Regions from separate parts of the Homo sapiens genome. Here all the other regions are linked to region 4. The links are contacts of gene promoters, found by promoter capture Hi-C in blood cells and fetal thymus (Javierre and others, 2016). All regions are on one chromosome and are shown on one strand. Each heading gives the region's core, a stretch centred on a gene start or on the middle of the fragment in contact. The rest is flanking DNA. Distances are from core to core; before and after follow the strand shown.

The links. Contacts are between HindIII fragments. The CHiCAGO score rates a contact against its expected background, and 5 or more counts as called.
Region 1: a fragment that was not itself captured here is called in contact with the fragment with the promoter of OBSCN-AS1 in region 4 in 2 of 17 cell types (total B cells and fetal thymus); the score reaches 5.4 in total B cells.
Region 2: a contact is called between a fragment that was not itself captured here and the fragment with the promoter of OBSCN-AS1 in region 4, in 1 of 17 cell types (fetal thymus). The highest score is 6.9, in fetal thymus.
Region 3: a fragment that was not itself captured here is called in contact with the fragment with the promoter of OBSCN-AS1 in region 4 in 1 of 17 cell types (fetal thymus); the score reaches 7.3 in fetal thymus.

What each region holds. Positions count from the first base shown.
Region 1 is chr1:228,125,205-228,127,904 of GRCh38, reverse strand. No RefSeq gene overlaps it. Among named protein-coding and RNA genes, the nearest start is that of GUK1, 14 kb to the left of the region's middle. The HindIII fragment of the contact is 1,185 bases long and covers 740-1,924 here.
Region 2 is chr1:228,278,742-228,281,441 of GRCh38, reverse strand. OBSCN (obscurin, cytoskeletal calmodulin and titin-interacting RhoGEF) reads right to left here. Exons shown (of 116, transcript NM_001386125.1): 31 at 2,487-2,700; 32 at 1,998-2,267; 33 at 1,355-1,621; 34 at 997-1,263; 35 at 646-912. Among named protein-coding and RNA genes, the nearest start is that of OBSCN-AS1, 66 kb to the right of the region's middle. The HindIII fragment of the contact is 9,114 bases long and covers 1-2,700 here.
Region 3 is chr1:228,087,150-228,089,849 of GRCh38, reverse strand. All of the region lies in intron 1 of ARF1 (ARF GTPase 1), which reads right to left. Among named protein-coding and RNA genes, the nearest start is that of ARF1, 5.8 kb to the right of the region's middle. The HindIII fragment of the contact is 7,232 bases long and covers 1-2,700 here.
Region 4 is chr1:228,212,335-228,215,034 of GRCh38, reverse strand. It overlaps OBSCN-AS1 (OBSCN antisense RNA 1), which reads left to right and starts at 1,380. Exons shown (of 2, transcript NR_073155.1): 1 at 1,380-1,613. OBSCN (obscurin, cytoskeletal calmodulin and titin-interacting RhoGEF) reads right to left here. Exons shown (of 116, transcript NM_001386125.1): 2 at 2,264-2,700; 3 at 1,325-1,594; 4 at 601-861; 5 at 1-245. RefSeq lists a silencer at 1,244-1,293. The HindIII fragment of the contact is 3,550 bases long and covers 105-2,700 here.

The DNA.
Region 1 (2,700 bases), core at 83-2,582, 87 kb after region 4:
ATGTGGCTCCAGTAACTATAAGGACAGTTAGGACCTCATTCTTGATCTTAAGAGTTATTTCCCTAACATGGTTGTGGGGAAGGATGAGAAGAATCCCTACAATTCGCTGGAGTCCCATTACTGGGAGTTGATATGGTTTTAATGTCCTGCCCCAATTTCATGTTGAATTGTAATCCCCAGGCTGGGGGCAGTGTCTCATACCTGTAAACCCAAGACTCTGGAAGGCTGAGGCAGGTTGATTGCCTGGACTCAGGAGTTCGAGACCAGCCTGGGCAACAAGGCAAAACCCTGTCTCTACCAAAAATACAAAAAAATTAGCCAGGCATGGTGATGCGCGCCTATGGTCCCAGCTACTCAGGAGGCTGAGGTGGAAAGATTGCTTGAGCATGGGAGGCAGAGGTTGCAGTGAGCTGAGATTTTGCCACCGCATTCCAAACTGAGTAACAGAGTGAGGCCCTATCTAGAAAGAAAGAAAGAAAGAAAGAAAGAAAGAAAGAAAGAAAGGAAGGAAGGAAGGAAAGAATTGCAATCTCTATGTAGTATTGGAGGTGGGGCCTGGTGGGAGGTAATTGGATCACAGGGGTGGATTGCTCATGAATGGTTTAGCACCATCCTCTTGGTGCAGGTGCAGTCCTCATGATAGCGAGTGAGTTCTCGAGAGATCTGGTTGTTTAAAAGTGTGTGGCACCTCCCCCATTCTCTCTTGCTCCTGCTTCACCTTTTGCCATGATTGGAAGCTTCCTGAGTCCTCTCCAGAAGCAGATGCTGCATGTTTCTTGCACAGCCTGCAGAACTGTGAGCCAATTAATTCTTTTTTTTCTTACAAATTACCCAGTCTTGGGTATTTATAGCAATTCAAGAATGGCTTAATAAAGGAATATACACCTTGAGGGTTTTGAGGGAGGGGTCATTTAACTCTCTTTAACTTATAGCAACCTCTCTTCCAGTGTCCAGTTTTTTATAATAATGGTAGGGGCCAGGAGGATTTTGTTTGGGGGCTTCTGTTTGTTGCAGCTGGTGGTTGAGGATTTTGATAATTTTCTTTTTATTGGTATCCTCATGGGGCTGATTGGCCAACCTTACTAAATGTGGAGTGGACATGCCTCCGCATTCCATGTGGATTATTTTAACAAGCTGGGAAAGCTCTCAAGTTAGGCCATTCACAAACATAGAATTAAAGGCTACTTGGGTAGAATAAACATTTACAGAAGTCTAGAATTGTCCTTAAAGATGATGCGGAGTCAACTGTAACACTGTAATAATTCTGAACTTGTTCATTTGGTTTTGGGTACAAGTTGAATCTTGTTCCAGTCTATGGCTTTAAGGAAAACTTAAGAATAGCTCTGTGGGTCTTTAGATTGTGAGCTTGTTCCCAGTATTGGGGCGTTTGTCTAGTTCAGGTGGGGTCCAGTTAGCTTTAGCCATCCAATGTTGGGCTTGGCCTTCATCAACAAGTGTATGAAGCAGCTGTTATAGACTGGGAAAGCCAGACTGATAGGCCTGGATTACCATGTTGAATTCATCAGCAAATGAGTTACAGTCTTCAGTAACTTTTAGGAATTCCTTGGCAATGGCTCCGAGTTCAGCCTTAGTCCAAGCCTTGGTCAAAGGAACATAGGAGACTTGGGATTTAGCTGGGTCATCAGTGCTCATAGGAAGGGCTGTAGGAAGTCGGGGAGGAGGTTCCAGGGAGGAGAGAGTCTGGTCCTCTAAGGTTTTTTTTTTTTTTTTTTTTTTTTTTTTTTTTTTTGCCTCTTTTAATTGTTTACTTGTCTCAACTGGCTTTGAGACAGTGTTTTGTATAGAGGTAATTTTTGAGTCCTGAATGTGATTTGAAGCCTCAAGATGCCAATTGTAATATGTCTCCCATTAAGACTGACCCTATAGCCATGGTCTCCTAATTTAGTTCTCAGAAAAGTAAGCTTCAGAAGTTTGATCTGCAAATGGCCATTGGAGCTCCAAATTATCCTTAGTGTAATTTGCCCATTGGTTTAAAAGGGTGCACAAGGGTGATCCTGAATGTCTGGACATGGAGCTGGCTGGGGTCCTGAAGGAGGGTTGCCCTGCATGCTTTAGAATTTGGGAATCCCATTCTCTTTCTTAATCTCTCAAAAGCAAAAAGAAAATCCTATTGGTCCTTTGAGGAAACTAACTCTTGAACAAAGTGTTCTGCTTTCACAAGTATGCCTTTCACAGGATACTTGTTTTGCTTGGTGGATGGCCTTTGCCCTAAGTTGTCTGACCTGTGACCACGGAGCCCTTGTTACACAGAAATTTTCTTGAAACTGGTATGCCCCCAGTGGTAATATTGCCTGTATCTGACCAGTTTGTCCTTTCAAAGGAGTCTTTGACTTTGGAGACTCGAATCTGTTATAAAATGGTGGTGAGAACCCCAGTGGCTCTTAAGTGTTCAACCGTGTACAACAATGTTGTGTTATTTTGCTCTCAAACGATGTTTAGAAACAATGAAAACAAGAGGAAAAGGTCTAATTTGCATGCAAGCAGCCAAAAATGAAACCAAAAGAATACTCACCATGTGCAGGCTAAAGCACCTCCATCTTGGATGCTAGTCTTCCATGCTCACTTCTGATTAACCCCAGTTCTAGGACGTGTAGGAGTGTGGACTCACCGCACATCCTGCTATATGTCAAAACAATCTCTTCACATTATCATAAACATGATCATAAATCCTGCCTTTTG
Region 2 (2,700 bases), core at 103-2,602, 66 kb before region 4:
CAGGCTGGTTACACCACCTGTCACCCACACCAGGATGCCACTGGGACCGGGCACACACACAGAGGGGGCCAGGTAGCCACCCTGCAGTTGAGGGAACTTCCCCTGAAAAGCAGGACAGGTTCCAGGGCACGCACGCCCCCAAGGCTGCAGGGCTGGGTTCAGGGATGGCTCTACCCTGCCAGCCCAGTGGCCTTAGGGCCTTGCTGGGGCCCCGTGAAGGACAGAGACGTGGCCTACTCACAGCCCCTGCCTGGCATCTCGGCTTCTCCCTGGCTATCCCCACTGGTGTCCCCACAGTGGCCTGATGACTTCCATGCAGACACGTCCCCTGGTACAGGGCAACATCCCCAGGCTATGTCGTCGGGACCAGCGGGCAGGGACAGCACAGCCTCCAACCCTGGCTCCGGGGACAATTTCTGGCTCCGGGACCCACTGTCCCCGGGTCCACCTGCTTGCACCCAGGCCTCACAGGACCACATCAAGCCATGGCTCCCCCAGAAGGCTCCCCTGACCTCCCCGGCTCAGCAGAGCAGCCCTTCAATCTCAGAGAATGATGTGGGCCACCCAGGTAGTGGCTGGCCCCACATCCATGCCCACCCAGCACGCCTCCCTTCCCTGAGCTCTGCCGTGCCTGCAGCCACACACCGTGCACGCGGACCCGGGCCCGGGTCTCCTCGGAGCCCACGTGGCAGGTGTACAGGCCGGCGTCTTCAGGGCTCACGTCATGCACCACGAGCCCCCGCGTGCCCGCCGTGTGCAGGAAGTCATACTTGTCACTGGGGCCCAGCTGCACGCCATCTTTGCGCCACACCACATGGGCCTCGGGGTCAGAGACTTCACACTGCAGGGCCAGGGTGCCGCGCTCCTCTGCGGACAGGTCATCCAGCGCCTTCAGGAACACCACCGGCTTCACTGCAGGAGGGATAGGAGGGTGAGGGAGGCCAGCGCCTGTCCCATTCCTAGTGGGGAGTCCCGAAGACTCGTGGGATGACTCACCTCGGACCTCCAGGCGGGCAGAGGTCGACACCTTCAGGGAGGAGGCGCGTACTATGCCCGCATCAGCCCGCTGGATGCTCTTCAGTACCAGCGTGTGGCGCCGGCCCTTGTGTGAGATCTCATGGAAGCTGTCGTTGTACAGGGGCATCCCGTTGAGCGACCACTCGACCTCCTCATCCTCGTGGGACAGCTCACAGGAGAAGCTGGCCCAGCCCTCCTCCGTGGCCTCTGCATCCTGTAGCGGCCCTGTCACTGTCACCTCCCGCGCTGCAAGAGACACACCGGGCCTCAGTGTCCACATCACCAGGCAACCCCTCCCCAAAACCCTCTCAGTAGCCCCATGCCCCTCATGCCCCACCTTCCACAGTGACCTCAGTGCTGCTGTGGGCACTGCCCGCCTGGCACCGGTAGACACCAGCATCAGCAGGCATGAGCCGGAGGATGCGCAGCTCAGCCATCTGACCCTCCAGGCTCATCTTAAACTTCTCAGAGGGAGACAGGGGCGTGTCATCCTTGTACCACTGCACAGCCTTGGGGGCTGGCCGGAAGTCGCAGGACAGGACCACTGACTGCAGCTCACGCCCTGTCTTGGGCTCCAACGGCCGTGTGAGGACTACGGGGATGTCTGCAGGGAGTGGGGAGAGGCTGGGCCACGGCACCACAGGAACCAATCACCCTGCCCTGCCTGCCAAGCCCTGAGCCTGCTCACCTATGGCCTTGAACTGTGTCCGCCCCTGGCCCTGAGCTGTGTCCACCATTCCCTGAACTATGTCTTCCCCTGGCCCTGAGCTGTGTCCTCTGCAGTCCTGAACTGTGTCCTCCCCTGGCCCTAATTGATATCCATCTGTGGCCCTGAACTGTGTTGTCACTGCCCTGAGCCTTCTCCTCCCATGGCCCTGCCCTGTACCCACCCACAGCCCTGTCCAGGCCTCCCAACAGCCCTGAACCTTGTCCTCTTGTGGCTCTGCCCCACGTCCACCCACCGGGGCGGGAGTGCTCACCTGAGACCACCAGGCGGGCAGAGGAGCGCGACTTGCCAACGGTGAAGTGCACGGGCCCGGTCATGGTGGAGCAGGTCCGCCGCAGCATCAGCCGGTGCACCGTGCCCTCCTGCTCCAGGCCCACGTTCCCCCCAGCCTGCAACACCGTCTTCCCCAGGAGCCACTTAGGTGGCCGCACTGAGGGGATGGAGGTCTCACACTCAAACCAGGCAGGAGCGGGCTCCATCACTGTCACGTCCTGCAGACCCCGCACAATGGTGATGGATTGCTCTGTTGGGGAGGAGCAGTCGCTGGCGGATCCCGCGGATAGGACATGCTGCCCCTCCGGCAGGGTTCCTTCCTGGGAACAAGCCCCCGCCCTGCTAGATGCATGCTAGCATCCTCCTGAGCTGCCCAGACCCAGCGTCTCCAGGAGTGTAGGGCAAACCATGGACCTGGGAGACTCCCCCCAACAAAAGCAACCTGCAGAGCTGCCCTCCCTGCCTGCACCTTCCACGAAGAACTGTGCACTGGTCTTGACATCACCGGCGTCACAGGTGTAGGTGTCCTCGTCCTCTGCGTGGACATCACTGATGATCAGCTTGCGGTAGAGGCCATCACTGACCAGCTCGTACTTGGGCCCGGGCTGCAGCTCCTGACTGCCCTTGAACCACCGCACCTGGGCGCTGGCCCGGGACACCTGACACTCCAGCACACCGCGGTG
Region 3 (2,700 bases), core at 72-2,571, 130 kb after region 4:
ACTGCCAGGCACTGTTCTGGACGAACATAGGCCCACCATTGTGTGGGGCTGGGGGATCCAGGGCCCTGAAGGCCCCTTTCTACACCACTTGAAAAAAAAAAGGGGAACTGGAACAGCACACTGCTGGTGTTGCTGTCATAAACTGGGAGAGCAAGTTGCTCCTTCCTCCAACCACTAGAAGGGGGTGGGGCCCTTGTAGCTTCTCCGCACCAGGTTAAAGAAAATTAATGCAATGGCTGCACCAGTGATTGAGCCAATGCCTAAAACTTGATTTCTGCCTTCAAGAAACGTTCATTTTAAAAATGTAGGCTGAGGGGAAACACCACACAAAGACTTGCTCTTCCAGAGAAATCAAAAGCGAAGTGCAACAATGGGAGTGGGAACCATCACCAGGTTTCCCCCAGCTTTGGGACGAGCACCACCTTGCCACCCCACCCCACTCTGGTCAGTCAGACATGTAAAGAGACGGGGATGCCCCCCCACAGACCCTGGGAGGCCACCGCCCTTGCAGGAAATCCTCGCTTCTGGAGGCACTCCAGACCTAGGTGAGAGAAAGGCACACCCCGGGGACACTCTGGGGACCTCCCTTCAAGTGACCTAGTTCTCACACACACGCTGGCATCTGCCCTGCTCTCCAGGTGATGGTGGCCCCTACACAACGACCCCACATTTCTCTTCAAGACTTTAGACCCTCCTCCCAATTCCTGCCCCTTGACAGCCAGCTTTGCAGCCGAAACCCCCCTCCCAAACCCAACAGGCATTCTCCGCTGTGATGCGAGTAGCCTCCCTCCTGTTCCCCAGGCAAGAACCCCGTCTCCAGCCTCCTCCTGCGTGTTCTCAGCACACCAGTCAGCCAGGTGACCCGATGTTCTACTCAGAGCTGCCCCACGGCTGCCGCCCGATCAGGTCCTTGCAATAGGCTGCCTTGGTCCACAACATAATGCCCACACTGTGCTCTAAATGCTGCCTCTGGCAACCCAAAAGGAAGTAGAGACAGCATCCCAGCACTCGCACAAGACGGCAGAGAACCACTGCTCTGTCCCAACTATGATGCAATGGGGAGTAAAGGAAAGTGACTTCACAACCACGCTAGAGGACCAAGGGTGGCGGCCAGAGAACCACCCTTACCAGGCTGCTCATGCACTGACACCACCAACCTCAAGGGCAAGCCATGTCCATGAAGCAACTACTGTAGCTTTTCCTTCTGGAAACTGAATTCTTGCTGTGATTCTGAAGAGAACAATACACAGTCATCTTTGATTTATAAGGTGATTTTGTTCCTGGAACTTCAGAACACCTGTTAAAACTATGCACAAAAATTTTTTTTTCATATTTATAACAGGTCTGGGACATCAGACGACCTCCCCTACATGAAGGTCAGACAGGAAGTGTTCTTGCCACTGCCAAAGGTGCCAGTGCTGCCACCCAAAAATGCCACCACAGATTACCAAATTCCTTTTTCTGGGAACCGCGGACCCCCTCCGAGGGCCACTGCACACCCCAGCAGGCTTCCCACCCAGTATGCACCCTACTCCTGACAGGTCTCCAAACTCTGCCAGCCAGCGCACTCACCTCAGGGATTCTGCCCTGATTGTCCCGGGCCACTCCTTCACATCTCTGCTCACATGGCACCTGTCAAATGACACTCAGCCCCTTCCGGATGGTCCTGGTATCTCCCTGCCTTCCCTCCACCAGTGTGGGCAGCTCTGTGTGGCACTCACCGTCACAGCCACTGCCCCCGTGGAGCCTCATGCTCATCAAGCAGGGCTTCCTTTGCCCAGAACAGGCCTTCCTCCCCAGCCTCCCACCCTCTTCCGCTGGGCACTGCACAAGTGACTCACCACCAAGGAGAGGAGAAAACAATGGCAAAAGAATGTTTATCAGGCCCATAGGGCTCATGAAGATCAACTGTACACATCTGCAGATGTGCTTTCCCTAAAAATTAAGTTCGTCACGAAAAACCTATCGCATCAACAAGGAATTGCATGCTTTTTAAAAACTGTACTCATGTGTGGGTCAGTCTGAACATTCTTTTGACCATAAAAATGTGGGAAAATGGGGTTGTAGATGCTGTTAACTACTGAAGGCAAAAGTGTGGCAGCTCAGTGATGTCAGACACAAGAGGGAGGGAAGGATGTGTGTTCAAAATCTGTTTTCTAAACCTGCCCCCAGGTCCTCAGCTGATGAGTAGGTATAAATTTTTTTAAGAGCTAAGGGTCCTGCTCTGTTACTCAAGCTGGAGTGCAGTGGTTATGATCACAGCTCACTGCAACCTTGACCTCCTAGGTTCAAGTGATCCACTCTCCTGCCTCAGCCTCCCAAGTAGATTGCACTACACAGGTGTGAGCCACAGTGCCTGGCTAGTACAAATATTTTAAGGAAAATGTCACCACCAAAATTGCCAGAAGATGTATTCATAGTATTTTAAATATAAATCAATAAATTTGATTGGTGAGTGAGCAACTGCATTCCCATCTACAGAAGGTACAAAGCACAGGCACATCTAACTGCCTCCGTTCCCAATCCCCAGGATGAGTATAGATGATAGCTTCTTGGCCATTTGTACCTAAATCAAACCTATAAAATACTTAAAAGTTTCCCGCATAGCGTATATGGTACTGCAAAAATAACTTGCTGTATGACACAAATGGAAAGATGTCTCATGTCTAGCCATGCTACCACTGGAAGCCCTTTGGAAAT
Region 4 (2,700 bases), core at 131-2,630:
TCGGAACTGGAAGTTCCCCTCCTCCGCCACATCAGCCACGGTCAGCTCAGGTGTAGCCACCCATTCAGCCTCGTGGCACCTGATCCAGGTGTAGGTGCCAAGCTTCTTCTTCTCTACCAGGTAGCCGTCGATAGTGACAGGGCGTTCCCCATGGGGTGGTGGGGACCAGCTGAGAATCACGGAACTCTCCATCCTGGCCTTTACCACAGGATCCACAGGGGGTTGCAGGGGAGGCTTCCTGGGGGCTGTGTAGAGGGTGGGCAGAGGTCAACTACTGGGAGCCTCTTCCTGAGCCCTGGGTCTGGAATCACCTGGAGGGGTGTCACAGGATCCCCAGCTCTCTTGGGGCTGCTCTGGGGACCTGGACCACTGGCCACAACCTCCAGCCCCAGACCTGCAGCCACTTCTCTGGTTGCAGCTGAAAGACTGCGCGGGGGCTCAGGGAGCCTAACGTTGGAGGGCCAGGGCTATGGTCTTGCCCGGCGGCCCTCGGTACAGCAGGCTGAAGCCCAGAGAGCTGAGGTAATGGAGGGCAGGGGACTGGGACCAGGGAGACAGCAGGGAAGCGATGCCATCCTGGGAGCACCCTCAGGCCCTCACCCGACACGCAGAACTGGGTGGACGTCTGGCAGTCGCCAGCCATAAAGGCCACCTGGCCCACATCCTCCAGGCAGCACTGGGAGATGGTTAGTGTGTGGCGCGTGCCCTCCGCGGAGATGGCCACGCGGCCCCCCGCCACCACTTCCTCCTGGTTCCGCAGCCAGTGGACGGGGCCCACCGGGACCGCCAGCTCCACGCAAAACATAGCCGTGTCGCCCACGCGCACCGCCGTCTTCCGAGGGAGCTTTCGGAGGAGGTTTCCTGGGGTGGAGGGAGCCGGGCCAGTCAGACCAGCCCCTGCACGCCCCGCTCCAGACTCGCTCCTCCGCTTGCCCCCTGTCTCCCGGTTCCCAACTGCCTCCGATTCACTCCCCCGCGCAACCCCTTACCTGTCCCGCCGGCCCAAGTCCCAGCTCGGTCCCACAAGACCCCTGCCCACTCCGTCTCCCCTTCCCCCTAATCACCACCCCGTGCCCGGCCCGAGCTTGCTCCTCCGCCCCCACCTTACCTGCCCTTCCCGCCCCAGTCCCGCCCCTGCCTGCCCCAGTCCCAACTCGTACCTCGCAAGCCCAGTCCGTCTGCACCCTGCCCGCCCCCGTGCCCGCCCAGCCCGTGCGGCCTGGCTCCCCCCTCCCCCGCCCCCGGCTCCCTTCTCGGTGCCTCCTTGCCCCCGCTACCTCCCCGAAGCCGCCCTGTGCCCCGCCCCGTGCCCCGCCCCGCCTGCCTTGGACTGCGAGCTCCGCCACCGTGCGGCTGCCCTCTGGCGTCTCGCAGATGTACACCGCGTCGTCGTCGGCCGAGACATTGCGCACGGTCAGGCGGCGCTCGGTGCCCTCCTCCTCGATGCCGTACTTGGCGCTCGCCCACAACCGCGTCTCCTCCTTGAACCACGCGGCCTCAGTGGACGGCTGGGGCACCTCACATAGGAACGTGGCCGACTCCTTCTCCCGCACCTCCAGATCTTGCAGCCGCTTTTTGAAGGGAACCGCGGGCTCTGCCAGGAGAGAAGACTGGTGAGAGGGGCGGGGCCGGAGGGTGCAGGACGACGGCGGGGTGGGAAGGGGGAAATTGGGGGATTGTGGGCGGGAAAGGAGACTGGAGGATGCAGAGGTGAGGGTGTGGGAAGGAATAGGGGACAGGAGCAGAGGGGCTGGGAGGCTGGAAAGGAGAGGGTGCAGGGTAGAGGAGTGGGCTGGGGAGAGGAGCGAGCAGGAGGCAGAGGGGCTAAGGGTTGGGAAGGGCGCAGGGGAGGAGACAGGAAGTTGGGGGGCGGGGGAGTAGAAGAGCAGAAGGCAGAGTGGTGGAGGTTGGGTTGGGAGCAGCGGGAGGGAGAGGGCGGGGCTGAGGAGGTGGGATCCCCTGCGGCCCCGCCCCTCTCACACCTCTCGCCCCTGTCTGTGGGCCAGCGGTGGCGGGTTGGGGGCGCGGCATGCAAAGGGGGCGGGGCGGGCAGGGGACTGGGTGGGGAAAGCGGGTTGCGGGTGTTTAGAATAGGTCGTGGGGCGTCGCCCGCATTTTGCGCACCAGGAACGGACACCTGCAACCCTGGATTCCACGACCGGACAGACGCGGGTGGGAAACGGCAGACCGCAAGGGCGAAAGGACCCAGGTGCACGGGTTGCGGAGGAGCCTGGGCCCGCGCGCCCCGCACCCAGGAGCTCACCGCGCACTACGACCAGCACAGAGCTGTAGGTCTGGCCCACGAGGTTGGACGCCGTGCAGGTGTAGAGGCCGCGGTCCGACTGCTTGCAGAAGAGGATCTTGAGCACGAAGTTCTCCTGCGCGTCCTCGTACACCACGTGGCGCCGGCCCTCGGTCACCAGCTGGCCGTCCTTCTTCCACACCGTCTCGGGCTTGGGCTCGCCGGTCACGTAGCAGCTGAGGCGCGCGTGCTTGCCTTCAGTCACCGTGCAGGTGCGCGTGCCGGTGCTGGGCGGTGAGGCGGGGGCGCCCTCGGCGCGCATAGCCTCGCGCCGCCGCTGCAGGTGCGCCAGGAGCGCGGCCGTGGAGGTCCCGGGCCGGCTGGCCGTGTCCGCGGCGTCCGAGTCCACCACTAGCGCCGCGGCGGCGCTGGCAGCGCCCAGCGGGTTCTCGGCGCGG